Linked DNA regions of Homo sapiens: regions 1, 2 and 3 are each linked to region 4. The links are contacts of gene promoters, found by promoter capture Hi-C in blood cells and fetal thymus (Javierre and others, 2016). All regions are on one chromosome and are shown on one strand. Each heading gives the region's core, a stretch centred on a gene start or on the middle of the fragment in contact. The rest is flanking DNA. Distances are from core to core; before and after follow the strand shown. Region 1 overlaps UBR4 (ubiquitin protein ligase E3 component n-recognin 4). Region 2 overlaps PAX7 (paired box 7). Region 3 overlaps UBR4 (ubiquitin protein ligase E3 component n-recognin 4). Region 4 holds the start of ALDH4A1 (aldehyde dehydrogenase 4 family member A1).

Region 1 (3,076 bases), core at 425-2,924, 190 kb after region 4:
CAACATCTGAGCCCCAAAAGTCACCACTTCCATCAGAGTCATCAGGAATACCCCTAGAAGAACTATGTCTCGGCACTTCTTGGGGAATAACAAACAGTCGGAGTTTCACTTGAGAAATTCGTTTCTAAATTTCTGTGACAGTGCTGTTAATTGTCTCAGGTGGTCAAAATATACCAATACAATCTTCCCTCCCTGTAAAAGAATGCAGGCTGCTGGACATTCACTTGGTCATAGCTCTAGCCAAATCATTAGCACCAATAAGAATGGAGGAAATTACAGGCATAGCAGGTGGAGAGAAATTCTGGGAGTTGGAGATCTGGGTTCTAGGCCTGATTCCACCAGTAACCAACTATGTACCACAGCTGAGGAAATGCCAAGTCCAGGGAAATGAAGTGGGCTATTCAATTCCTCAACTATGAAATGAAAGGTTGGACTAAAGCCTCTGTCTATCAACTGAGACATGCCAGGATTCCATTAACGAGCAGCTTTTGAGTGAAAGACTATCCTTAGCAATTGTGCTTGCTCTGAATCCAAAGATTTCACATTTCGATACAATTATGTCATCATTAGTTGAGTCCTAACATTCCAATGCTTAAGCAGGCTCCGCCATTCTCAGGTGGGCTAAGCCAGACACAAACAGGCCTGTTGTGGGCAATGAGACAGTGCAGGCTCTCAGTGCCTGCAGATGGAGGGGCCGAGCCCCACTCACCTTGTCCTCACTCAGGGGCTCAGCATTGGACTCATCTAGAATGATCTCCATGATGCTAAGCACCTGCTCAGCCACAGCTGCACCCCCACTGTCCTTGCTTTCTTGTTCAGCTACAAGGGCCTGTAGGAGAAGGAGACTCAGTCACTCTCAGAATAAGACCACAGCCACTAACTGCTGAGGACAATTGCTCTCAAGGATGCCCTCACAGCCTTACTCCCCAGAGACCATGTGTGTATGACCGTGTGTATGTATGTGCGTGTATATGCATGTTCTGAGAGGGAGACAAGCGTGTGAGCTTTTGATGACAGGCAGCTTTGCTGCCCCAAGGAGAGGGGCACTTCTTTCCCACTGGTGTGTAGTCTAGACTGTTTAAGGGACTGCCTTCCTCTTATCTCTGATCTGAACTCAGGAAAGGAGCAAGGAAGCTCTTGAGTGCCATGGCAGCAGCATGGGGGCAGGAGGTGAGCCAGCCAGAGGAGAAGGGCAGCTGAATGACCCAAGCCTCTGCACCAGTCAGCCAGAGAGATGAAGGGCTTGAAGAAGCCGTGAGTCCATTTCATCTGAGCCCAGAACTGAGAGGTCTTTCACACCCAGACTTCCAAGGCCCACTCTTCTTCACCTGCAGTCCATGCTCCTTACCAGGTTTAGGGTCCCCAGCATGACGTTCAAGGTGTTCATTTCCAGTTTGACCAGTTGCTGCCGGTTGACTTTCACCTTCACGCAGTAACTGAACAATTTCAGTAGCACCTGACAAGAAAAGCCAGTCAAAACCCATGAGGCCACATGAGAGTGTAGGACATGGGGGCCAGTAGGAAAGGGATGTCTAAGCAGGGTCTACACCATCAGCAGGGGCTCCTCCTGAAATGAAGAGGACAGGAGGGAGAAGCGGCTCTTCAGGGGACATGGTGAGATGGCTGGGCTCTCACATTAGGCTGGTAGCTCCAATGGCGGGATATATCTCTACCATCTCTAATACAACGGCAATGACAGCAGTTCCTAATGGAAGAGGTGATGCTCTGTTTGTTGTCTTGGGGGAAATCCCAGCATCAACTCAGACCCTAAACTAATAGTAAAGAAAATGATCCCAAAGCTCGTGGCCTGTGAGAGCTCAGAACCACATAGGTCATTTAAAACAAAGGCACAATAATAACAATAATACATATTCTCATAAACCCTGGGGGAGTGGGGGTGGGGAGTAGTGAAAATAACAGTGTAGTATTTGTGGTGCCTCTCTGGAATGCTCTAATCCTCACTAAGGAGATTAGTTGGATGAATACCCAAACAAAACCCTACAATGCAAGAAATGAGTTACATTACAAAATCCATTTTAAAAACAACAACAATGATAATAGTTAACACAAGTGCAGCTATTTGGGGAAAGACAGTCAGATGCTGGCTCTATAGAGAGGTATTGGAGAAGGGAAGTGGGCCAGCAGGACGGGAAAAGGTGTGCCTAAGAATGTAGTCCTAACTGCCAGGTCCTTCACTGGCTCGCACTGCTCCACGGCACCATGCTGCCCTCTAGGGTAAAATGACACAGTGGCCATAGCTTCTTTCCACAGGGGCCTCTCCCAGTGCAGAAAGGCTGGCCCCCACAACTTGCTGCCCCCAACTCACTGTTAGAAGGTGGCGTCCCTGCTTGAAATCTCTGATCCCTGCGAGTCTGTTAAGCATGCATTCCAGGCCCCCACACTGGGCCATCACACCAGCCATTTTATACACTTCTTCTTCATCTTCTTCTTCATCTAGGGGAGAAGGGAAGCCAAGCAGAAATGGAGGGTAAGGTGAAGATGGGAATAAAATAGGCCAGGATAAGACAGCCCTATTCCTGGCTGATGGCTGACAGCCCTTTTCCGTATCTCCAATAAAGACACGGCCAATAAAAGGGGTCAATGATGGATGATATTAAACTGTCCCACTCTCAGTAGGAGCTTTTTTAAAGTTTCAAGTCAATTAAAATTACTTACTCAAATGTCAAAGTATGAGCACCAATACCATCAATGGAGTGGGGGGAGAGGGAGTTAAAAATAAATCTGAACTCCAGTTTACTGTTCATTGCATTTTCCTCTAAAAGTTTGCTGGTATTCTTTTTTTTTTTTTTGAACACTCAGTGGTATCTGCATCATGCCACAGACACCTCTTTTTTTCCTCAATTGAAGAAACAATCTCCCCACAATTCTGATGCAGAGGTACAAGAGAGAAGCAACTGAGAATGCCCCTAAGTCCTGGGACGTGAGCCGCTCATGAGTCCCAAGCCTCAGATCCAATGTGCAGTGCCATGATCTACCTGTAGTAGAGTCCAGGGACTCAATGAACTCCTCTGTGGCATCGCCCAGCAGCCCCCGCATACGATAAACAATCCTCATG
Region 2 (2,916 bases), core at 236-2,735, 240 kb before region 4:
CTGGCCCACTCTTGGGGGCTCACCCTGATTTTCAGCTGCTGCATGCAGGACAGGGGTTAAAGCCAAAAGCAAATCTTAGCCCCAGTTCTATGGCAGGCTTCTGCCCGGCTGACTATGGCTCAGGCAGCTCAGAGAGAATGTGTTCTGCAAGGAAGGTTTGCTGGTAGAAGCCTGACCCCAAGGACACGTGGCTGGGCAAGGTTGTAGGAGAGCTGGCTGGGGTTGACATTTCATAAACATGAAGTTGCCTTGGGAGAAACCTTTCTTCATTATCAATGCTAAGGGAACCCTTGCTCAAACAAGCCAGGGTTATGCAAAACTCCAAAATTTCCTTCATTTGAGCTGGAGAGTGTGTGTGCATATGTGTGTGTGCATGCACGTATATGTGTGTGTGTACACATATGTATGTGTGTGTTGTGTGTGCATGCATGTGTAATGTGTGCATGCCTGTATGTATATGTGTGTGCATATGTATTTGTGTGCATGCATGTGACTGTGTGCACATAAGCATGTGTGTGACATGTGTGTGTATGTGTGTGTCTGTGTGTGTACTGCAGATTCACTGTCCTAGTGAGTTTTGTTCTGTGTTTTCAGCTCCTGCACCAGATTAGGACCTTCTTTGAGAGCAAGGACCAGTCAACTACATTTTATTCTGCTTTGATCTCACCTATTTAGTGCCAGTGCAATACCATATGCAGAACAGGTGCTCAATAAATGCTCCCTAACTTGAGAACTTCTCTGAGACACCTGAGCAGGAAAGGGGAGGGGGCAGCCAGGCCTCTGCTGAGAATTGAAGGCAAGGCTTTCCCTCCCCCTCCTTTCCACTTCTCTTCCTCCCTCTCTCCCAATCCCACATCTGTCTTAATTTGGGTGCTACTGAGGGGGCCTGAAAAGGGAGTGTCCCTAATGATCATGGTGTAGAGAATTCCACCCATGCCATTTACCTTCACCTTCTAAGGAGCTTCCCTGCTAGCAGGGCCAGGGAGGTCATTTGTACTCACCTTCCCTGGTGGTTTTTCCCCTGGGGAAAGAGAGAGTGGAAAGGAAAGGACCTTAGGCAAGTAGCCAGGTGGAGGGAAAACTGCTCTTGCCTGAGAGGTGGGAACCCTGCCTCTGAGTCCTGGTAGCAGGCAACTGTCCCATTTGGCCTGGGACTTTCCTGGTTTTCCCACTGAGGGTCCCACATTCCAGAAAAGCCTTCAGTCCCAGGCAGACTGGGATTGTTGCTCACCCTACCCCCTGGCGTGTAAGGATCAATCCCGTAGGTCCGTGGGGCTCAGGTACCTGTCACAAGGAACGGCCTCAACCTCCTCCCACCTTTGTTAAGGAATGGGTTGGAAGGGAAGAGTGACTGCAAAAGAATTGGGAAAAGCCCAGCGGGCCATGTGCTCGAGGACCTTACCCTTCGGCATCTGCCCCTTGCGTGGGGTGGTTGAGGGGAAGCATGGATGTAGGAGGTCGGAATTCGTCCACGTTTGTGGGTAGAATTGGAGCCCAGTGGCTGGAGCCTGGGGTGTCCTCCTTATCAACGCTCCCAAATTGGAGCCTCTGTCAGGGGAGGGGCCCCTAGGATAGGGCCAAATGGGCCTCCCATTTGGAGCTTGGCTCTTTGACTTAGACCAACTCAAGTTCGAATCCTGGCTCTGCCACTTGCTGGCTGGGAGGTTTTGGCCAAGTCATCCCCCTACCTGTGGAAGACAGGTGACACCACTCCAACCCAACTCTGCCCAGGACACAGCAGGCCTCTGACACACGCCACATTCTTCTCTTCCTTTCTGCTCTTCTCTTCCCCTAGACACCTTATTTTTTCTGGCTTAAGGACAAAATTAGGAGGGAGGAAAACGGAAAATCCAGATGCCAAGTCCTTCCAGGGAAACCAAAGTGGGGGATGATTGAGGCCTGGGAGGTGGAGGGAGGGTTGTTGTGGAGTCATCATAATTTAAGAAATCTGCCTCCCTTCCACGCCCCAAGATGAGCATTACTATTTCATGGATGATTCAAGTCTAACTTCCCCCTAGGAAGGGCTGTGACCCCTGACCCCTGCAACCTGTATTTACCACGTTCAAAAGCCCCTACTAGCCCCAGAGAGCTGACCTGAGCTGGGACCAAGGCACCAGGACTGGCAGGGCTATAAACAAGCCTGCCTCCTTGGGCTCAGGAATCCTGAGTGAAAAAACAGAAGGGGGCTCAGAGGTGGGGCCCAGTCCTGGCCTGTGAGCCAGCGGCTAAAGGGAGGGGAGAGAGGACTCACGGGGGTGGGGGACCTGGAGGATGAGTTAGGGGAGAAATGGGCACATAAGGAGCTATTTCCTCCCCTTGACCCTCGGTTTTCTTGGCTGTAAAATGGAGCAAAAGCTACTTTGCTCGTTAGGGTTTTGTAAGGCTGAAGTGAAATAGTGAGTGTAAGGGCTTCAGAGTGCTAGAGGGGAAAGTAAAAAGCACACACGCATGCTAGAGCAGGGGGCATAGAATAGGGAGGGGGCCAAAGCATGGAGGATTAGACAGTTGACACGTGGTTGTTAGATGATCAGTAAATCTCTGTTGAGAAATAAATACCCAGAGCTTGGCTGAAACAGAACAACGTGGGTCCATCCCTGCCCTCAGAGGCCCCCTTGCTTGGTGGGGTAGACAGGCAAACAGATATCCCTCCCTTCAGTGTAAGGGTTGCCATGAGGAGTAGGGGGCATAGGGGCTGTGGGAGAGTCCCGCTTTGGGGTCCATGAGGTGGAAATGAATTCGTCTTTATTTTTTCAAACTCACATTTCCTGTGCCTCTTTGCAGAAACTTTCTGATCTCTCCTCCCACCCCAAACTTGCCTTTGGTGTGTCCACGTCTCTTGGATTAGACTTTAATCCTCCTCCAGCTCCTTGATGGGCATGCAGAGGCTGAGAGGATCGAACTGGCCTTTCCCAGCAC
Region 3 (2,738 bases), core at 199-2,698, 250 kb after region 4:
AATGTGGCATAGTAAAAAGAACAACATCCTGACAGCTGAAGCTCTGGACAGAGAAAGAAAAGTATTCAGAAGGTAACTGGAAAGAAAGGGGTTAAGGGGTAGAGGAAGGCAATAAAGAACTAGGGAAGAGGAAACTGAGGCATAAAACAAATTTGGATAGAACGAGCTCTCTAGTGGGTTATCAGATGGTAGGACTTTGCTGTTAATCCCTCTACCCCAAACCCCCTTTTCATCCACTTAGAAAGGGAGCAGAGAGGACTAGGGTAAGGAAGAGAGAGTTGAGAGAGTGTCCGACATGGCCAACACCAAGAGTGCACTTACGATCTTCCATATACTCCATTTTTACACATGGACAGCTCTGTAGCCATGCAATGACCAGAACAGAAAGAAGCAGGAAGACTCTTCAACAGAAGCAGAATCAATGCAAAGCCACACCATTGGTTACACGGCTCTCTGACACACACTCACTCGTGCAGAGAAAAGAAAGAGGGCATACTAACCGGTCCAGCTTGGTTAGGGACTCAGTTTCAGAACTTGGGGGAGAAGCAAAGAAAAAAAAAAAAGGAAAAAAATGTGAAGCTCAGAGAAACCCGGAAACACATCCTAAGCAAACCATGTATGGATAGGGCATCGGGGAAAAAGAAAGAGAAAGGAAGGGAGGGAGGAGGCTGGTGGTGGGAGGCAGTGATTCCAAGCAAGGCTATTCTTGTGACTTACAATGTAAGAAACTCAAAATCTTACATCATGAATTATAATATTTCATCTACCATGGCAAACCAGCAGCTACCTAGCACAAAGAAGCCAAGCACAATGCTTAAGAATATGCCACTGTAGGGAGACTTAAGGAAACTCTAGACTCTGCTACAAGAGGCAGCAGACAGCCTCTCTTGCTGGCAATGTTATTATCACAGAAGTAGCTACGCAGAGAAAGATGATGAAAAGATGATGAGCTCAGAATGGAAGGGAGGATGTTTTCCTATCATTTCAGCAAGCCTGGATCCTAATCTAGAATACTGGCTTGAGCATCGTCTAGCCTGTGGCCTCTGGCTACTCTAAAGGGTACCTGAGCATTATTAAGAGAAGGGACAGAACTTCTGTCCAGGGAGAGACTCTGGTGTCAGATGACTCTGAGCACATTTTTCAGGCTTTGCACGCTAAAGAGACACTGAATGTGGGCGAGTTGTATGAAAACTTAAAAAAATTCCAGGCTAGCCTTGAGATGGTTATTAGAAGCTGGCTCTCTCAAGACACAGGAAGGTTCTGCAGTGAGTGGAATATGTAAAAACTGAAGCCAACCCCTGCCAGCACTGGTACCTCTCCAGGACAGTTCCACTGGTCGTAGTGGGGGCAGCTGAGTCGCTATCTCCAGTGCCGTTGCTCTGGTTCAGATTTGAAGGGCAGATGTTGCTGACAGAGGCAGAAGGGAATTCTTCTGGGGGCTCATCAGGCCAGCCAAACTGCTCCTTAGTCTTGCCATAAATTTTTACAGCATCTATCATGGTGACACCTGCTGGATCCACCGAGGCCCCAACTGCAATAAGCAAGAGAGGCCTTTAGGAAGCACATTCTCTAAAAAGCCACCCCTCCAAAGCAAAGACCAGAACAGTTGGAGCAAAGAAGTAAATCACGTCAATTTTATAGACATAGAGAAACTTTATCTTCTGAGATATTTGCAGCACTTTAATCGTGTATATATGCTGAATACATGTGGTAAAAGTTCCATGGACCAAAAGCCGATTACGTCTCCTACTCAGAAGAGTCCCTAACCATCACTGCAAGGGTCCTCTTCTGCTTCAGAGTATTGTATCCCCTACCCCTCACTCCCAGGGGTCTCTACACACTTTCTTTGTTCAAAGTACAGATCATGATCATTCACACTAACAGCAACTATATCTAGAAGAAAGAATATCAGACAGTGGCCAATAAATGACAGAGAAATGCAGTCTTGAGTAAGGCTCAAGGATTTGTATTCTGAGAGTTTAGTTTTCAGTGGCATAGCAAGCCATTGCCAACCATCTCTCAGCCATGTGTGACCTGAGGTCTTCCTCTGTGCGTTAAGAAAGCCTTGCAATTTCATGTCAATCTGCCTCCTCTCGGCCTAAACACAGAAGTAGCCCCATTAGTGAGGTGGACACAACACTATTGAAATGAATACTCAACACAGTGCAGCCCTATCTTTACTGCTACCATGCTCCGGTGTACTCCTTTCCTGTCACCTTGCCTCTTTAATACATCAAATGAAGCTCAAAGTTTCCTGATGAAAGGACAGAAAAATCAGCAGAGTGGAGAGATCCCAGAATGTTGGACAGCCACAGGCCAGTGGCTCCCAATTTCGCAGTCACAATGAGGACAGAGTCTGCACCAGGGGTTGGTGACTCACTGAAGAGGTTCAGCTTCTTATCAGCCTGCAGGGCTTCTTCTCTGGTGAAGGGGAAGTCAAACCAGCGTGAGCGACTCAGGTTGAGCTGCATAGTTCTGCCGAAGATCTCGATATATGACGGGGCCCGTTCTATTGCTTGAGTCCCAATCTGGATCCGCATGCCTGTCATCACCATAGTGCTATTGTTGTTACTAATCTCAATGGTGAAGCCTCCGGGCTGTAGGGAGACAAGGCACACATCAAGAAACTACAGAAGTTCTTAAGTTTTAACTAGGACTCCTTCTTCTCTGACATTGTCTCAACATGTGAAGCTCATTAAAACTTATCCTTTTAACTCCCTGGTAATGACTTCCTTGTT
Region 4 (2,765 bases), core at 126-2,625:
GAGTATGGCAAGTGTGGCCCCAGTCTCAGCCTAGAAGAGGAACCCCTCTGTCCCATGTCCTCTTCCTGCGCCCTTTCCTATCCCCTCTTCACCCACAGAGGACACACAGCAGTGTTGCAACTCACTTGTGCTCAGAGCACCACCATGCCATCCCTTGGGGGAAGGGAGAGGGCCACTGATTAACTCAGAAAGGGCACAGCTCATCAGGAAAGACACTGCCACTAACAGCCCCAGGGGTCAAGCAAACAAACCTCAAATGGGAGGGGGGGCTGATCCACAGGTGGGCAGCCCCACCAGACTAGGAACCCCTCTGGGGCAGGGTCTGTGTCCCACCTACCTCTCCAAACCTAGCTCCGAGCTGGAGGGGCTCTGAGAATATTTGTCATTGAGTGGGCAAGGGTCCAGGCACCTGGCTCCACAATGTCAGGTTTGCAAATCGGGATTTGAAGGGCAGGTCCACCCCTGAACTGCTCCTGGGTTTCTTCATTATTTGGAATAATGACCTGCCTCACAGGAGTGAGAAGTTTAAATAGAGGTGATAATGATGATGATCGTGGCAATAATAATAACCGGGCGCTGCCTTTGTGCTGGGCACTGTTCAGTGCACTCCCCATGTATTAACTCATTTAATCCTCATAAGACACCTGCCAATTGCCCGGCCAGCATTTGGTTCATTATAAGCACTCTATAAATATGATTATTCCACCTACAAGAAGAAAGGAATCCTTTTTTCTGTCCAACATTTAACTTGAAAAAAAAAAAAAAAAACGGGCGGCGGGGTGTGTGGGGAGCGGAAAAGAGAGAGGTAGAAATCCTGGTAGAAGGAGAGGACTCGGGGAATCCGGGGCGGGATGGGGACACTGAACGTGAGACGAGGGTGGGGAAGTGAGATGTGTGGTGTGCTAAAAATAGAAGGGCCCCTCAGGGGAAGCCAGCAAATTGCGAAGATCCAGTATTAGGAGTGAGGTGAGTGACTACAGAGGCTACTTTCCGAGCGTGGGAACCGGCAGGGCCACCGAGGCACCCTACTCGGTCGCAGGATTCGGGAAGAGGGGTCCCCTCGCTAAAGGAAGGTGACTACCTGAGGGAGGAGGCTAAGGGATCTCAGTGGGAGAAAGGCCTGGGTGGGGGTCGGAGGGGAGCCCCTGAGGAACCCGGCGTTGACCGAGGCAGCTTGGGGGTCCGGCAGGGAGGGAGTGCGGCGCGGGGGACGCCCAGTGACTCTCAGGCTCCCGGGCCCCAGGCGCGCGCTCGGGCCGCCCCGGGCCCCGTGCTCACTCACCCGGCCCCGGTCCAGGGGCGGGACAGCAGGGCGCGGCGGAGCGCGGGCGCCGGCAGCAGCATCTCGGGTTAGAAGCGGGGCTGTTCGCTGGATCGTCCGCCCGGGCGCGGCGAGAATGCACAACCCCGTCCAGAGCGCACCACCTCGATCCTCGGGGGGAAACGGATCACCCCGGCTGTCCTCCGAGCTCGGGATCAGCCAAAGTCCCACTATATTTAGCTTCGGCTAATAAAAAATATTTCTAGTGCCATAACGGGGGCATTACACAACACAGGACAAGGGAACCCGAAAGCGAAGTCCTGAAATGCATGCGTTTTCCCCTCCTCTCTTTATGGTATGACCCGGGAGAGAGGGCGTGAACTCTGTCGACCAGTCAGAGTGACACACCAAAGCTTCTGAACCAATCAGCGGGGCGGTCCTGCGGCAGCCTTCCAAAGCGGAGCAGAGAGGGGCTGAATAGAGCCAATGAGATAACCGAAATGGGACACGTGCTGAAGCGGGGCAGAAGGACTCGCTGCGTCCGGCCCTCTGGCGTGCGCCCCGGGTTCGATGGGAGTCCGACTGACTTCTCTCGGGCTGCCGGTGGCTTGTACAAGGCTGGAAACCTGTCCGCTACCAGACTCCTCGACCCCGCAGGGCCACAGCGCGGCCAGCCCCCTGCTTCTTCCCGGGGGCTGCGGCCCCTGGAATGAGCCTGCCTTCCAGCTTCTTGGCCAGGACCCAGCCGCTCTCCACCTACCCTCCAGGCGCGGGGCCGGCCAGCTTCTTAGCTTCCTTGCAGATTACGATCAATGCAAGATAAAACCTGAGCTGGCCAACGCTTAGCTTTTCATTTAAAGCCTTTGGCCGCAAAACCAGTTGTTCCTGAGCCTTTTACCCCCAAGTAAAAATTTCAGCTTTCTTTGCAAAATGTTGTGTGCTTGGTAAACACTAGAATGCTATTTAAAACTTGGATTCTGAAGTCTTCTCTGATGACGAGGTCTCAGGGACCCAATCTATTCCTAAAGTAATGTTACGTTTCCTTACTCTCTGTTCTAATTTGTTTATATTTCTTCCAGCAGCATGAACCGCGCACCTGCTTAGGAGTCAGTTCCCATGCTGATTTTGGTTCCTCAAGCAGGGCACTAGGCAGACTACATATCCTTTCCGGGCCTCAGTTTCCTCATCTGTAAAACGGAAGTAATAGTACCCAACTCACAAAGCCCCCGTGATCTTAAGCCACTTATTTTTCTCCAGATTACACCATTTGAGGTACTTTGGGAGAATGTAAACATTTAAATGAAGAGTAGGAGAGGGAGATTACCTAAATGCCAAGTATTAGGAATGGCAAAAAGCAAATTGGAATTGGTGGCGGCTATTTGTCTTCACCTTTGGAGAAAACCCTAGACAGGTGGGCTCAGTTCACATTTGGGCAATGTTGCCCTGAACATGCCCATTGACAAGAAAAACTAGAACATTGGTTACTGTCAAATCCAGAGCCTGG

Evidence for each region. The method cuts DNA at HindIII sites, captures the fragments that hold promoters and counts their contacts. A CHiCAGO score of 5 or more calls a contact.
Region 1: a contact is called between a fragment that was not itself captured here and the fragment with the promoter of ALDH4A1 in region 4, in 16 of 17 cell types (endothelial precursors, naive CD4 T cells, fetal thymus and 13 more). The highest score is 17.2, in endothelial precursors.
Region 2: a fragment that was not itself captured here is called in contact with the fragment with the promoter of ALDH4A1 in region 4 in 1 of 17 cell types (fetal thymus); the score reaches 6.9 in fetal thymus.
Region 3: a fragment that was not itself captured here is called in contact with the fragment with the promoter of ALDH4A1 in region 4 in 2 of 17 cell types (fetal thymus and activated CD4 T cells); the score reaches 7.1 in fetal thymus.

Annotation. Positions count from the first base shown.
Region 1 is chr1:19,094,197-19,097,272 of GRCh38, forward strand. UBR4 (ubiquitin protein ligase E3 component n-recognin 4) reads right to left here. Exons shown (of 106, transcript NM_020765.3): 91 at 2,997-3,076; 92 at 2,327-2,454; 93 at 1,349-1,456; 94 at 710-829. Among named protein-coding and RNA genes, the nearest start is that of UBR4, 110 kb to the right of the region's middle. The HindIII fragment of the contact is 5,286 bases long and covers 1-3,076 here.
Region 2 is chr1:18,658,577-18,661,492 of GRCh38, forward strand. The region is part of intron 4 of PAX7 (paired box 7); the gene reads left to right. Among named protein-coding and RNA genes, the nearest start is that of PAX7, 29 kb to the left of the region's middle. The HindIII fragment of the contact is 3,395 bases long and covers 1-2,916 here.
Region 3 is chr1:19,149,263-19,152,000 of GRCh38, forward strand. It overlaps UBR4 (ubiquitin protein ligase E3 component n-recognin 4), which reads right to left. Exons shown (of 106, transcript NM_020765.3): 48 at 2,381-2,597; 49 at 1,315-1,531. Among named protein-coding and RNA genes, the nearest start is that of UBR4, 60 kb to the right of the region's middle. The HindIII fragment of the contact is 4,359 bases long and covers 1-2,738 here.
Region 4 is chr1:18,901,180-18,903,944 of GRCh38, forward strand. It overlaps ALDH4A1 (aldehyde dehydrogenase 4 family member A1), which reads right to left and starts at 1,376. Exons shown (of 15, transcript NM_003748.4): 1 at 1,283-1,376. The coding sequence starts at 1,344. It overlaps LOC124903866 (a long non-coding RNA gene), which reads left to right and starts at 934. Exons shown (of 2, transcript XR_007065519.1): 1 at 934-1,073; 2 at 1,631-2,192. RefSeq lists a silencer at 1,143-1,362 and enhancers at 1,443-1,672, 1,612-2,429. The HindIII fragment of the contact is 9,883 bases long and covers 1-1,672 here.